Regions from separate parts of the Homo sapiens genome. Here all the other regions are linked to region 1. The links are contacts of gene promoters, found by promoter capture Hi-C in blood cells and fetal thymus (Javierre and others, 2016). All regions are on one chromosome and are shown on one strand. The core of a region is centred on a gene start or on the middle of the fragment in contact, and the rest is flanking DNA. Distances in the headings are between cores, read along the strand shown.

Region 1 (4,765 bases), core at 1,873-4,372:
TTTACAACTTTTTAAAAAAGGAGTTAAGGCTGGAGTTTTCATCAGGGGCCAGCCATGGAGGGACATATGGGGCATGCTGAGGAATTTGGGACCTTATCTGTGATCCGTACCCCCATTCTATTTGTGTTTTAGGAAGTCCACTCTGGTTCCAATATAGATAATGTCTTGGAGGGGACCAGTATGATTAGTTAGCAGGTTAAAGCAGCCACCCAGGAAGGATGGTGGCATGGGTCAGGTCAGGTGACAGAAATGGGGCCAGGAGGCCAGGCACAGTGGCTCCTGTAATCCCAGCACTTTGGGAGCCTGAGGTGGGAAGACTGCTTGAGCCCAGGAATTCAAGACCAACCTGGGAAACCCCATCTCTACAAAAAATACAAAAATTAGCCAGGTGTGGTGGTACACACCTGTAGTCCCAGCTATTCTCGGGGGCTTAGGTGGGAGGATCACCTGAGCCCAGGGAAGGTTGAGACTGCAGTGAGGCAAGATTGTGCCACTGCAATCCTGCCTGGGAAACAGAGTGAGACCATGAGAAAAGAAAGAAGAGAAGGAAAGAAAGAAAGAAAGAGAGAGAGAGAGGGAGGGACGGAGGGAGGGAGGAAGGAAGGAAGGAGAAAGAAAAAAGAAGGAAGGAAGAAGGGGGAAGGGAAGGAAGGAAGGAAAAGAAAGAAGGGAGGGAAGGAGGGAGGGAGGGAAGGGAGGAAGGAAGGAAGGAAGGAAAAGAAAGAGAGAAAGAAAGAAAGAGAAAGAAGAAAAAAGAAAAGAAAAAAGAGGAAGAAAGAAGGCCAGGTGCGGTGGCTCACGCCTGTAATCCCAGCACTTTGGGAGGCCGAGGCAGGTGGATCACCTGAGGTCAGGAGTTCGAGACCAGCCTGGCCAACATGGTGAAGCCCCACCTCCACTAAAAATACACAGATTAGCTGGGTGTGATGGCGGGCGCCTGTAATCCCAGCTACTTGGGAGGCTGAGGCAGGAGAATCACTTGAACCGAGGAGGCAGAGGTTATAGTGAGTCAAGATTGTGCCACTGTACTCCAGCCTGGGCAACAGAGCAGGACTCTGTCTAAAAGAGAGAGAGAGAAAGAGAGAAAGAGGGAGAGAGAAAGAGAGAAAGAGGGAGAGATAAAGAGAAAGAGAGGAAAGAAAGAAGGTAAAGAAAGGAAGAGAGAAAGAGAGAGAAAGAAAGAAAATGAAGAAAGAAAGAGAAAAAAAGAAAATGAAAGGAAAAAGAAAGGAAAGAAAGAAAAAAGAAAGAAGGAAGGAAGGAAAGAAAGAGGGAGGGAGGGAAGGCAGGAAGGAAGGAAAGAAGGAAGGAAGGAAGGAAAAGGTGGCCAGGATGTTGGAGAGGGGTCACAGCACTTGGTCTCATTGCTAAACTCAGCATCAGAGGGAACACTGGAAGCCTGAGAGGAGTACACAGCCTTGGATCACAACTTAAGTGAAGGAAATTCTAGATGAGAACTTCCAAGATCAATTGGGCAAGGGAGCATAGAATTTCAAATGCCCAATTTTAGGCTGTCACTGGCTGTTACTGGGTATCTAGTGCTTTCCCCCTAAAGAGAAGCTTGGAAATATGGGCTCAGGATGACCCTGAGAGGGTCTTGAGCCAGGTGCTAAGGGAAAGAGGCTCACTGTCAGGCCGGGTTTGTATCCAAGGTTCGGTCAATTTCAGGGCAATGTCCAGATTTTACCTGCAGGTGGCAGCCCCGTAACTCACAGAAAACAAAGCCTGAAGCCCTTTCCGACGACTAAAAACCCCCAAGGAAAACAGAGACTTTTTTGGTGATTTTGTGCATTGTGAAGCTACTGATGGAGCCGGTCTGTAATTAGCAAGTTTCGCTACAGTGACAACAGGTTTTCATACCAGGGTGTGACTTTTACTTCACAACTTGCCTCTTGTTCCAATTTCTTTCCATTATTTAACACTAGCCATGCACCTATTCAAAACACTGCTGCCTCTAATGTGTTTTTTTCTCAGTGTGGAATGATCTTGGGCAACGTTGTCTCAAGTTTCTGAGTCTGTGTCTGTGAGAAAAAAAAATTTATCAAAAAGGCAATATAACAAATGTTGACTTAAAAAAAAGTCACCCACGAGCCTACCATTTTAACACATATTATTTTTACTTTTAAATGTTCCCTTCCAAATCTGGTTCCCATGCATATACTTTTACATGAACATACTCAATGTCTGTTTTTATCAATGGTGTATTTTAAAAGGAAATACTTAACTTTTTTTTTCCTGTTCTCTTAGGCATCTACTCTTTTCTGAGATCTCACCCACTTCCTTAGCTTTAAATACCACCACAGCACAGAAAAGCAGCTACATTTCAGTCTCTGGTCAGCCTTTATTATTCATCCGTCCATCCATCCATCCATTTATTCACTGCATGCACTGTGCTGGGTACTGGGAATACAAATGTGAAAAGGTGACCCTGTCTGTTTGGGAGCTTGTAGACCACCGAGCGGGGAGGGCTGGGGGACAATGAGTGAATGATTCATGATGCAATGAGATTGGAGGTATGGTGGGAATTTTTTTTTTTTTTTTTTTGAGACAGGGTCTTGCTCTGTTGCCCAGGCTGAATGCAGTGACACGATCATGCCTCACTGTAGCCTCCATCTCCCGGGCTCAGATGATCCTACTACCTCAGCCTCCTGAGTAGCTCCCAACTAGAGGTGTTTGCCACCCTGCCCAGCTAATTTTTGCATTTTTAGTAGAGGTGGGGTTTTACCATGTTGCCCAGGTTGGTCTTGAACTCCTGGACTCAACTGATCCACCCACCTCCACCTCCTAAAGTGAGATGTGAGCCACTGTGCCTGACCTACCATGGAAATTTTGAAGAAGAAAACTGACTTGGGGACCTAGTGGAAGGGTAGAAAGCCAACTGAACAGAGGAAATTGCATGTGTAAAGATATGGACACTCAAAGGATCATGACACCTTCCGGAAACCACAAGTGGGTTAGTATTGGTGGAGTATGTGTTACTGGAGACTGAGAAGGTGGCACTGGCTGGAAGGGCCAGATCTTTAAGAGCCTTGTAAGGGACTTGAGACAGTAGATGATGAATGTCTTAGTTCCAATTGGTTTTCTACTCTGCAGCCAGAGTGACAAAATATTTGGAAGATAAAAATTTGACCATGGCCCACTCCTACTTCAGTATTCCACAGAGTCAAGTCTCAAGTCTTTAGCAATAATGAAAAAGTGGGTGCAGTGGCTCATGCCTGTAACCCCAGCACTTTAGGATGCTGAGGTGGGAGGATCAAGAGTTCAAGACCAGGCTAGCAACAAAGTCAGACTCCTCTTCTCTACAAAAAATAAAAAAATTAGTCTGGGTGCAGTGGCCTATGCCTGTAATCCCAGCACTTTGGGAGGCCGAGGTGTGTGGATCATCTGAGGTCAGGAGTTCGAGAGCAGCCTGGCCAACATGGTGATACCCCCATCTCTACTAAAAATACGAAAATTACCCAGGCGTGGTGGTGCGTGCCTGTAGTCCCAGCTATTGGGGAGGCTGAGGCAGGAGAATTGCTTCAACCTGGGAGGCAGAGGTTGCAGTGAGCCAAGATGGTGCCACTTCACTCCAGCCTGGGTGACAGAGCAAGACTCTGTCTCAAAAAAAAAAAAAAAAAAATTAGTCAGGCATGGTGATGGCGCATGCCTATGATCCCAGCTATGTGGCAGGAGGATTGTTTGAGTTCAGGAGGTTGAGGCTGCAGTGAGTTGTGATCACACCACTGTACTTCAGCCTGGGCAATACAGCAAGACCCTATCTCAAAAAAAGAGAGAGAGAGAGAGAGAGAAAAGCAAAGGCCCTTCACGAGCCTCTTCAGCTGCTTTACCCACATGCCACACATCCTTCCTTGTCCCAGCTATTGGCTTCCTTACATCCTTGCTTACTGTCTGGCCTTCACACTTGCTGTATCATTTCTTCCTCTCAGGCTAACCAGGGTCTCAGCTTAAAGCCCACTTCCTCTGCCTTCCCTCATAGTGGATGAGGTCAGGTCCCCTGCTGTATGCTTCCAAAGCCACCAGCACTATCCTGGTCAAATTCTCAGAGACATGTCTTCCCCTTCAGGCTGCAGACTCTGTGGAGGGTTGTCCTCCTCTCTAGAGAGTAGATGCTCTAGGCTGGGCGTGGTGGCTCACGCTTGTAATCTTAGCACTTTGGGAGGCCAAGGCGGGCAGATTGCCTGAGCCCAGGAGTTTGAGACCAACCTAACCAACATGATGATACCCATCTCTACTAAAAACACAAAAATTTAGCCAAGCGTGGTGGTGCATGACTGTTGTCCCAGGTACTGGGGGGCTGAGGCAGGAGGATCTCTTGCCCAGGAGGTTGAGGCTGCAGTGAGCCCTGATCGTGCCACTGCACTCCAGCCTGGGCAACAGAGTGAGACCCTGTCTCAATACATACATACATACATACATACGTACATACATACATACTTACATAACACAAAAAATTAGCTGGGCATGGCGGCATGTGCCTGTAGTTCTGGCTACTTGGGAGACTCAGATGGGAGAATTACCTGAGCCTGGGAAGTCAAGGCTGCAGTGAGCTGAGGTTGCGCCACTGCACTCCAGCCTGGGTGACAAGAGTGAGACCCTGTCTCAAAAACAAAAAAAAACAAACAAAGAGAATAGATGCTTAGTTAATGTTGGCAAAGAGAATGAATGAGTACATTAAGCTTTTCTTTTATTTATTTATTTATTTTTTTTTTTGAGATGGAGTCTGGTTCTGTCACCCAGGTTGGAGTGCAGTGGCATGATCTTT
Region 2 (4,649 bases), core at 837-3,336, 260 kb after region 1:
GCTGTAATCCCAGCACTTTGGTAGGCCGAGGTGGGCGGATCACGAGGTCAGGAGATCTAGACCATCCTGGCTAACACGGTGAAACCCCATCTCTACTAAAAATACAAAAATTAGCCAGGCATGGTGGTGGGCGCCTGTAGTCCCAGCTACTTGGGAGGCTGAGGCAGGAGAATGGCGTGAACCCGGGAGGCGGAGCTTGCAGTGAACCGAGATTATGCCACCGCACTCCAGCCTGGGCGACAGAGCGAGACTCTGTCTCAAAAAAACGAAAACAACAACAACAAAAAAAGAAAGAATGGGAAGATTGGCTGGGCGTGCGGTGGTTCACACCTGTAATCCCAGCACTTTGGGAAGCCAAGGTGGGTGGATCACGAGGTCAGGAGATTGAGACCATGCTGGCTAACATGGTGAAACTCCATCTCTACTAATAAACTACAAAAAATTAGCCGGGCATGATGGCACGCACCTGTAGTCCTAGCTACTCGGGAGGCTGAGGCAGGAGAATCGCTTGAACCCGGGAGGTGGAGGCTGCAAGTGAGCAGAGATCGCGCCACCACTGCACTCCAGCCTGGGCGACAGAGCAAGACTCTGTCTCAAAAAAAAAAAAAAAAAGCTAAGATTTTGGCTAGATGCGGTGGCTTACACCTGTAATCCCAGCACTTTGGGAGGCCAAGGAGCATGGATCACCTGAGGTCAGGAGTTTGAGACCAGCCTGGCCAATATGGTGAAACGCCGTCTCTACTAAAAATACAAAAATTAGTCAGGGGTGGTGGCGCACGCCTGTAGTTCCAGCTATTACGGAGGCTGAGGCAGGAGAATCGCTTGAACCTGGGAGGTGGAGGTTGCATTGAGCGCCATTGCACTCTAGCCTGGGTGACAAGAGCGAAACTCCACTTCAAAAACAAAAAAAAAAAAGAAAGGAAAAAAAGAAGGGAAGATTCTAACACAAACAAGTGGTGCGCTTCGTGCTGTTGTGGTAAGCACATAAATGCATCATCCGTGCTTTCTAGAACAGAACTTCTCACTGGCTTTTCATGAAAGCCCGGGGGGGGAGGGTGGTTAACCTAGACTGCCCAGAATACAAACTTCCAACTACCTGAAAGGTGGCTTTGCAAAGAGGAATGTGGTTCAATTATTATGGAAATATTGAGACAAGCAAAGACATCTGCCTTGAGGAAATATGCAAGACATGAGAAGGGCCTGCCCTCTTTTGCCCAAGGCTTTCCTATTATGATCTTGTAAACCATCATTCCTGAATCCTCCAAGTGTGTCTGCATTTGTCGCATGGATAGATTTACCCAGACAGGTGGAAGAGTCATGACTTAAGGGTTATAAACAGCTGCAGAGGCCTGAGCTGCTTCCATAGTCTTGGTAGCAGGGAATGAGTCCATTCCTGGTGCCAGGCATTAACCAGCCTTAGAATAGGCCCCCAAATAGGAGCGACTGTAATTTTGGTCCAGTACATGCACCACCCATTACAACTAAACAGTAACATTAAAATGTAAGGAATTTCCAGTCCTTTTAAAAGGGATCATCTTGGTGCGCTCTCTGTTGCTGACTCATTGTGCGGCTGCTTTGAGACTATTAGGTTTCTAAATGGGACACACAGTAGGTATTCAACAGATAAATGTCAACTTGTTGCAGTACTTTTCATCCTTTAAGGAGGATGCCCTTACTATCCCACCATCAGTAAAGCAAATGAGAGAACAGTAACAGTGACAAATCTCCCTTCTGCTTGCCGAGGTTGTAACTCCCCAAGAAAGAGCTTCCCCCTCTGTCAGGTAACGTTTTACAGTGACAGCCAGCACGACTTCCACCCAGCGCGAGGTAGATTCGCCTTCCGTCCAATCATCGCCGAGATTTTGGGGTGGGGGAGGGGAGAGAGTCCCAAGGCCTTCCCAGTCCAGGAAGGGGGCGGGCTTAGGCTGAGCCGTGGCCGCCACAGCCCATCGTAATGCCGCATGGTGCTTGGCACTCCAGAGAGCCAATAGGAATGAAAGAATTCATTTGAATCGGCCAATGCCGGCGGGTTAGGGGGCGGGGGTTGAAAACCCTATAAAGGCGTCGATCGGCCGGACAGGCGGCAGCGGCGGCTCCTGCAGCGGTGGTCGGCTGTTGGGTGTGGAGTTTCCCAGCGCCCCTCGGGTCCGACCCTTTGAGCGTTCTGCTCCGGCGCCAGCCTACCTCGCTCCTCGGCGCCATGACCACAACCACCACCTTCAAGGGAGTCGACCCCAACAGCAGGAATAGCTCCCGGTGAGGCGACCGGGTCGCGCCCGAGCCGCGCGGGGCTGAGGGGCTGGGAGGGCCGCTGCCGGCGGGGCCTCGCGCCGGTCGTTGCGGGTAACGAGCCCCGTGCGCTGTGCTCGCGCCGGGGCGGGTGGCGGGGTTCTGCCGTCGGCGCCGCCTTTGTGCCGCCTGGCGAGCCCTGCGCGCCGGCCCCACCCGGGTCCCTGCTGCTCTCCATTCATTCCTTCCACGGAGTCAGGGGCTGAGGAGGCCGGGGCTGGTCGCCCCTCGGAGCACGGCCGGTTTTCGTTAATCGGAACCTTCGGGGAGGGCTTCGCTTTCTCCTGTGTGCATCCCGGCTGGTGCATCCCCAGGGTGGTGGGCTTGGCCCCCCAGGTGCCCGGGGATCCTTTAGGGCCCCATGCATGGTCAGGTCCTATTGTCCCATTGATGGGCCACGCGCTCCTGTCTCTCCCCCGTGGCATGCGGTTGGTCTCGCTCTCGCGCGCAGCCATTGGATCCGGAGACCGGATCGATCAGGTCCGGCGGGCTCCTTACCCTCGCCGTGCCCCCACTCCTTATTCGGACCTACCTGACAGGTGCATGTGTGGTCGAGCGGGGCTGGTCATCGCGACCCTTCACCCCCCATTGAGGACCCAATCGTTCTTCCCCTCTTCGAAGTGCCTCCCCTCTTCCAAGTGTCTCCCCTTCCTAACAAAGGAAAGACCCCTTCTCCCCATCCCTGCGCTCATTTCTAAGGCGGGGGGCGGGGGCGGGCGCGGGGAACGAGCCAACCCGAGTGGGTTTTCTGCGCTTAAACCTTCGGACCGTGGCCTTTGCATCCTACCTTCGCTTCCTCCTTTGACGTTTGCCCAGTGAGTTCATCCCTGGCCCTGGTTCCCTTGCAGGAGGAGGTTTCTTGTTCTTGGGCGGGGCCGGAGACATCCATTGTCTCTAACGTGGTAGCGCTACCTGGGAAGCGGGGGATTTTTCTTGCCCTTCTTCCCACTGCTTTTTGGGCTTGGGGCACTGGGTACAGTGTTTGGACAGGAACCCTTTTCCAAGTCCTTGCTTAACTTACTTGGTGGAAGGGTTTGGATTCTGTGGAAGGTGTCCACATTGTCTCAGCTAATTGCACACTGTTCTTTAAGGTGGGTTACAGTTATGTCTGGGATCCTCTTCAAGGCTTGGAAGAAGCTTAAATCACTTTTTTGAGCATGTATTTTACATCGATTATGACCTGCATTCATGTGTGGCTACCCTCGGGGTCCTGGCCAAGTGGCACAAAGGGAGCCATTTTGTGGGGCTAAGAAGACACGTGAAATAGCCATATCTCACAGGGGTTAGAGAACTTGGGAACAAAAAGCACGCCTCACTCAGCAATTGAGCCTTAGGAGGAAAGCATGGGAAATGACATTCCTTTACAACTCAATACTTTCAGGTTTACAAGGTCAAAAAGACTAGGTAAGATTAAAAAAATAAATTGGTGATTACTGGGAGGATGGGGTACTTAAGTAGCACAGACCTAGGAAACTGGTCGCTCCCTTTCTGTTTTCTTTCCAATGAGATGATTTCTTCAGAGAACAGGAAGAGATTGAGCCTTGGTTTTTCATTTTGTGTTACGAGGCCAACTTTCTGCCGGTTAGACTTCAGTCGTCGGAATGATAATGTGTAATCTGGGGTTTTATTCTTTGGGGTTGAGTTGATATTAGTGTTTTGTAAAGAATTTCAGTAATTAGGTCAAATGAATCCTCACACTTAGTTTTTCATGTGTACATTTGAAATGTGAGACAAATGAGTTCTGATCCTGTGAAATGAATGTTTAATTCACCTTTCGTCATCAATTTCCCTCCAATATTATGCTCTAGGGACTGTAGTAGCATTGTCATTTTATTGTCTCTCTACCTTCCCTTTTTCTATATTCTCACCTAATTCTCATAAACTTAATTTTGTCCAGTAATGTTCTCCTGGCCCCATAAACTCGTTATAAATTTAGTCTGGTAGGGAATGATCTGCAAAGATATACAGAAACTTCAGGATTTTAAGAGAGAAGAAAGAAAAGGAGCAATTTTTTAAAAATTGCTATTTACAGTACATGGACACATTTTTGTTCAGTCTTAAATATATAATCCTGATTTAGTTGTCGTGTATGATTCTGAAAGAATAGTAGGATCCTAAAACATTGAGATACTTTCTGCCTTATGATCTACATCCTTTGTTTGGGGATATCTCACTATTACAAATGGTCTCTACAACACTGACGTCATCCGAGTTGGTTACTACCTGCTATTGCAGGAGGAACAGAGACCTTTAAAAAGTGGGACTGGTTAGAGTTTTGACTTGCTCTTAAGCTGGTGTTCGGGTACTAGTGTCTTTTTCTTGATTTTTTTTTTTTTTTTGAGACGCAGTTTTGCTCTTTT
Region 3 (4,970 bases), core at 172-2,671, 360 kb after region 1:
TTTAATCCTACTCATCTTTACAGTAAAAGGAACAAGAAGAAACTGGCTTCTATTACCACAAGGAGGATATAGAGTAGATAAAAATAATTCCTTTATAAGCAAGGGTTTTGAAATCTCTTTAAAGTTAGGGCAGGATAGGTTTCCATCAATCTGAGATTTCTTAGAGAAGAGGAATAAACGAAAACAACAAATGTTTACGCAACTCCAGCTCTGTTTTGAGGTCACCAGCTGAGTGCTATATGGGATATAAGATGGTGTGAGTTATGGTCAGTGCCTTTAAGTTGAGAACTTAAAGGTGAATACGTAAAGTTAAAAAGAAATTGACACAGTTCAAACTGGAAATGGTTTAAGTGTCTTGTCACCTCTCAACCCTTTGGTTAGCAGCCATGCATCCTGCCCAAAATTTTCCCGGGAAAATTTTCATTTTCCTTCTGTCTTAGCCTAGATTTGCAGCGGCAAACAGTAACCTCTTTCCAAAAAACGCATTTGATCTAAATATGGACCTAAACCAGTGACTGTTAACAGATAAAAGTTCTGCGACCAGGACTATAGAAAAGCAGTGTGATATCACAAGGAGCGCTTCCTGCAGCTGTGGAAGCCCAACTTGGCAGAGGGGTCCGAGAGGGAGTCTGAGAAAGCTACAAGGATGCCTGAGCTAACCCTGACCCAGTTCTGGATGCATCTGGCACCGGCAGTGGGGGGACTGAAGAGGAGCCAGGGAAAACTCATGCAGATCTCAGTGGGATGTCAGGGGCAGAGAATATGGAGAAGGGGTGTGGAGTGCGTTCTCGTGGGTGCAGGTGGGCGCAGTGTGGGAAGGAGTCTCAGAGAACGAAGGGCGGGGTCGGGGAGAAAGCCAGAGTATGCCTCAGCATGGAAGAAGGGGAGTGGGAGGTCCCTCTGAGGCCCCTGCGAGTAGTGTGGGAGGGAGGGGGAGGATGGGGTCCCGGCCTGAGGGGGCTGCCTGTGAGGAGCGTGTCTCAGGACTCTGGGGACCGATCTACGAGAAACCAGGGGGTTCGAAGGCCCGGGGGCGCGCCCGAGGGCGGGGCACACCTTGTCTGAGTCCAGCTCCGGGTCCTCCTGGCAGCAGAGGCGGCAGAGAAATGACTTGGGCTCCCGGCCTAAGGTCTGTCTGGTGGTCACGAAGTAGGTGCCTCCCACGTTCAGCCTGACCCAGCGGGCCGCGCCGCCGCCCCCTGCCCGCTCGGGTGGTCCGGGACCCGGCTCCAGCGGCTGCGCGACGGCGGCAGCCGGGCGGCCGTGCCCGCGGGGCGTGGGGCCAGCCGGGCGTGGGCTGGGGGGCCCGCGGACTGGGCCACCCCCGTCGCCCACCCCACTCCCGCCGCCCCCTCCCAGCCCCGCCATCGCCGGGTCCAGCTGCAGTTCCGCCATCTTGGACCGCCGCCGCCACCGCTGCTGCCCGCGCGCAGCCGGGCCGGCCCATTTCTCGGCAGGGAGAGCCGGGCCGGCCCATCGGCGGGGGTGGGGCAGAGGGGAGAGGGACGGGAGCGCCCCCAACCAGCGCCCGGGGACCCGCGCGGGGGAGGCGCTGTGCCCGCCCCCGGGAAGATACTTCCGGAACCAGCCCTCATCTCTATTGGCTGATCTGCGAAGCAAGGCCCACCCCCTTGGCTTTGGGGTTGGCTGAGGAAAGATCTTCCCGTGACCCACTTCCGTTACTTGCTGCGGAGGACCGTGGGCAGCCAGGGTCGGTGAAGGTGAGTGGGGCTTGGGGCATTGGATCCGATCCCTGGAGGGCTCCTCTGCTCTGCCCTCTCCAAACCTCACGCCGACCCTTGTCACGCCCCCGTCAAGGACGCTGGGCCCTCGGCTTGCCCCGCTGGCAGAGTGTCCCTTGTGTAGCTGCCGCTCCTCGCCCCGCGATCCCTTCCTCAGCCCTCCTTGGCGCGCGGGGTCAGGGGGGCCCGGCTGTGTCCCAGGCGCCGCTGATGTAGGCGCTGCCACAAGCCGTGTCTCGTGCAGTCCGCTCCCAGCGCGGCAGACTTCAATAGTTTGGTGGGGGGACTGGGGAAACATTACGCAGACAGTGTTAACCTGCCGAGGGACGCTCAGCTGGCTGCGGGGCTGCGCCCTTCCCCTTCGGCAGCTTCCAGGATTCGAACGTATAGAGCGTTCAGGGCTCCTCGGGTGCAGAGTTCGGTTACTCATTCAAGAAAGATTCATTGAGCACCTCCTATGCGCATGATCTGTTCTAGGCGCTGGGGATTAAGCAATAGATTTTTAAGAATTAAAAAAAATTTCGCCGGGCGCGGTGGCTCACGCCTGTAATCCCAGAATTTTAGGAGGCCAAGGCGGGCGAATCGCGAGGTCAGGAGTTCGAGACCAGCCTGGCCAACGTAGTGAAACCCCGCCTCTACTAAAAATACAAAAAATTAGCTGGGCGTGGTGGAAGGCCCCTATAATCCCAGCTGCTCGGGAGGCTGAGGCAGGAGAATCGCTTGAACCCGGGAGGCGGAGGTTGCAGTGAGCCGAGACCACGCCACTACACTCCAGCCCAGGCGACAGTGCGAGACTCCGTCTCACTCACACACACACACAAAGTTATTTGTGACTTCCATTTTCCACTGATGTTGCGGGAAATCAGGGACCCCAAACAGAGAGACCGGCTGAAACCATGGCAGAAGAACGTGGATTGTGAAGATTTTATGGACATTTATTAGTTCCCCAAATTAATACTTTTGTAATTTCTTATGCCTGTCTTTACTGCAATCTCTAAACATAAATTGTAGAGATTTCATGGACACTTATCACTTCCCCAGTCAATACTCTTCTGATTTCCTATGCCTGTCTTGTCTTTAATCTCTTAATCCTGTCAGTTGAGGATGTATATCGTTCCAGGACCCTGTAATAATTGTGTTAACTACAAAAATTGTACAGCATGTGTGTTTGAGCAATATGAAATGTGGGCACCCTGAAAAAAGAACAGGATAACAGCAATTGTTCAGGGAACAAGAGAGAACCTTAAACTCTGACCGCCGGTGAGCCGGGCAGAACAGAGCCATATTTCTCTTCCTTCAAAAGCAAATGGGAGAAATATCGCTGAATTCTTTTTCTCAGCATGGGATATCCCTGAGAAAGAGAATGCGCACCTAGGGGTAGGTCTCTGAACTGGCCCCCCTGGGGCGTACCTGTCTCTTATGGTTGAGACTGCAGGGGTGAAATAAACTCCAGTCTCCCATAGCGATCCCAGGCTTATTAGGAAAAGGAAATTCCCACCTAATAAATTTTGGTCAGACCGGTTGATCTGAAAACCCTGTCTCCTGATAAGATGTTATCAATGACAATGGTGCCCAAAACTTCATTAGCAATTTTAATTTCGCTCTGGTCCTGTGGTCTTGTGATCTCACCCTGCCTCCACTTGCCTTGTGATATTCTATTACCCTGTTAAGTACTTGATGTCTGTCACCCACACCTATTCGTATACTCCCTCCCCTTTTGAAACTCCCTAATAAAAACTTGCTGGTTTTTGTGGCTTGTGGGGCATCACGGATCCTACCAACGTGTGATGTCTCCCCCGGACGCCCAGCTTTAAAATTTCTCTCTTTTGTACTCTGTCAAGCCAGTCGACGCTTAGGAAAATAGAAAAGAACCTATGTGACTATCGGGGCAAGTTCCCCGATACACTGATGTTTGGGAAAGTCTGTAAGGGTGCTTGGTTCCCTGGTAACTTTAAAATCACATGCCAATTGCCTTAACACCTCCCCTCCACAACAGGAAACAGGCTGTCCTGAGAAAGAAAGGAAGGACAGGACAGGTGTTTGACAACTTTCTTGAAGATCCTGAGAAAGACTGCTTCCGCCTCCCTTGCATTCCACTCCAAGCTTATAGAGATTTTTGACTTTGCAGTCTTTTAATATCTGACCCTGATCTTACTTAAAGAGGACTATTTTCCTATATTCTGACTTTTTTTTTAAGTGGCTGTAGTCGTTTTCTGTATTTTTCTCACATTTTCACATGTGTTGAATACCTCTTAAAATGCAGGCCGGGCGCGGTGGCTCATGCCTGTAATTCCAGCACTTTGCAAGGCTGAGGTGGGTGGATCACCTGAGGTCTGGAGTTTCAGCCCATCCTGGCCAACGTGGAGAAACCCTGTCTCTACTAAAAATACAAAAATTAGGGCCGGGCGCGGTGGCTCACGCCTATAATCCCAGCACTTTGGGAGGCCGAGGCGGGTGGATCATGAGGTCAGGAGATCGAGACCATCCTGGCTAACAAGGTGAAACCCCGTCTCTACTAAAAATACAAAAAATTAGCCGGGCGCGGTGGCGGGCGCCTGTAGTCCCAGCTACTCGGGAGGCTGAGGCAGGAGAATGGCGTGAACCCGGGAAGCGGAGTTTGCAGTGAGCCGAGATTGCGCCACTGCAGTCCGCAGTCCGGCCTGGGCGACAGAGCGAGACTCCGTCTCAAAAAAAAAAAAAAAAATACAAAAATTAGCTGGGTGTGGTGGTGGGTGCCTGTAATCCCAGCTACTCCGGAGGCTGAGGCAGGAGAATCGCTTGAGCCTGGGAGGTGGAGGTTGCAGTGAGCCAAGATGATGCCACTGCACTCCAGCCCGGGGGACAGAGTGAAACTCCATCTCAAAAAAAAAAAAAAAAAAAGTGCACAACGTGTGCTGGTGCTGCTAGGGTATAATCCGATGTGAATAAGAAGGTGCAGGTGTATTACCAATCTAGTTGGAAGGGGATAGCCCTTTTAAGTTTGTAAAACTCTGGAGCAAGTTGCTGTGCACAATTTCATGTGACACTTTTAGCAGCCCTCTGGGGCAAGCAGGACTGATAATGCCCATTGTACACATAAGTAAATTTTAGCCTAGAGAGTGCTCTATTTAAGGCTTGTTGAAACTTAGGTGTGTGTCAGTTTCTGTCTACTGGAGAATCAGTGAATAAAACACAATCTGGGTGGAAATGTCTTTATTAACTTTTATGCAATAAGAGTGTTATTTTTAG

The links. Contacts are between HindIII fragments. The CHiCAGO score rates a contact against its expected background, and 5 or more counts as called.
Region 2: a contact is called between the fragment with the promoter of JPT1 here and a fragment that was not itself captured in region 1, in 1 of 17 cell types (fetal thymus). The highest score is 7.5, in fetal thymus.
Region 3: a contact is called between the fragment with the promoter of KCTD2 here and a fragment that was not itself captured in region 1, in 1 of 17 cell types (M2 macrophages). The highest score is 6.4, in M2 macrophages.

The regions. Positions count from the first base shown.
Region 1 is chr17:75,409,708-75,414,472 of GRCh38, reverse strand. No RefSeq gene overlaps it. Among named protein-coding and RNA genes, the nearest start is that of MIR3678, 6.0 kb to the right of the region's middle. RefSeq lists a silencer at 1,591-1,885. The HindIII fragment of the contact is 3,119 bases long and covers 1,563-4,681 here.
Region 2 is chr17:75,151,949-75,156,597 of GRCh38, reverse strand. JPT1 (Jupiter microtubule associated homolog 1) reads left to right here and starts at 2,086. Exons shown (of 5, transcript NM_016185.4): 1 at 2,086-2,256. The coding sequence starts at 2,201. RefSeq lists an enhancer at 1,003-1,598 and a silencer at 2,251-2,490. The HindIII fragment of the contact is 22,783 bases long and covers 1-3,428 here.
Region 3 is chr17:75,043,676-75,048,645 of GRCh38, reverse strand. KCTD2 (potassium channel tetramerization domain containing 2) reads right to left here and starts at 1,421. Exons shown (of 6, transcript NM_015353.3): 1 at 1,057-1,421. The coding sequence starts at 1,395. It overlaps ATP5PD (ATP synthase peripheral stalk subunit d), which reads left to right and starts at 1,677. Exons shown (of 6, transcript NM_006356.3): 1 at 1,677-1,721. RefSeq lists enhancers at 1,438-1,732, 1,617-2,202, 2,141-2,210 and a silencer at 1,311-1,740. The HindIII fragment of the contact is 5,200 bases long and covers 1-3,847 here.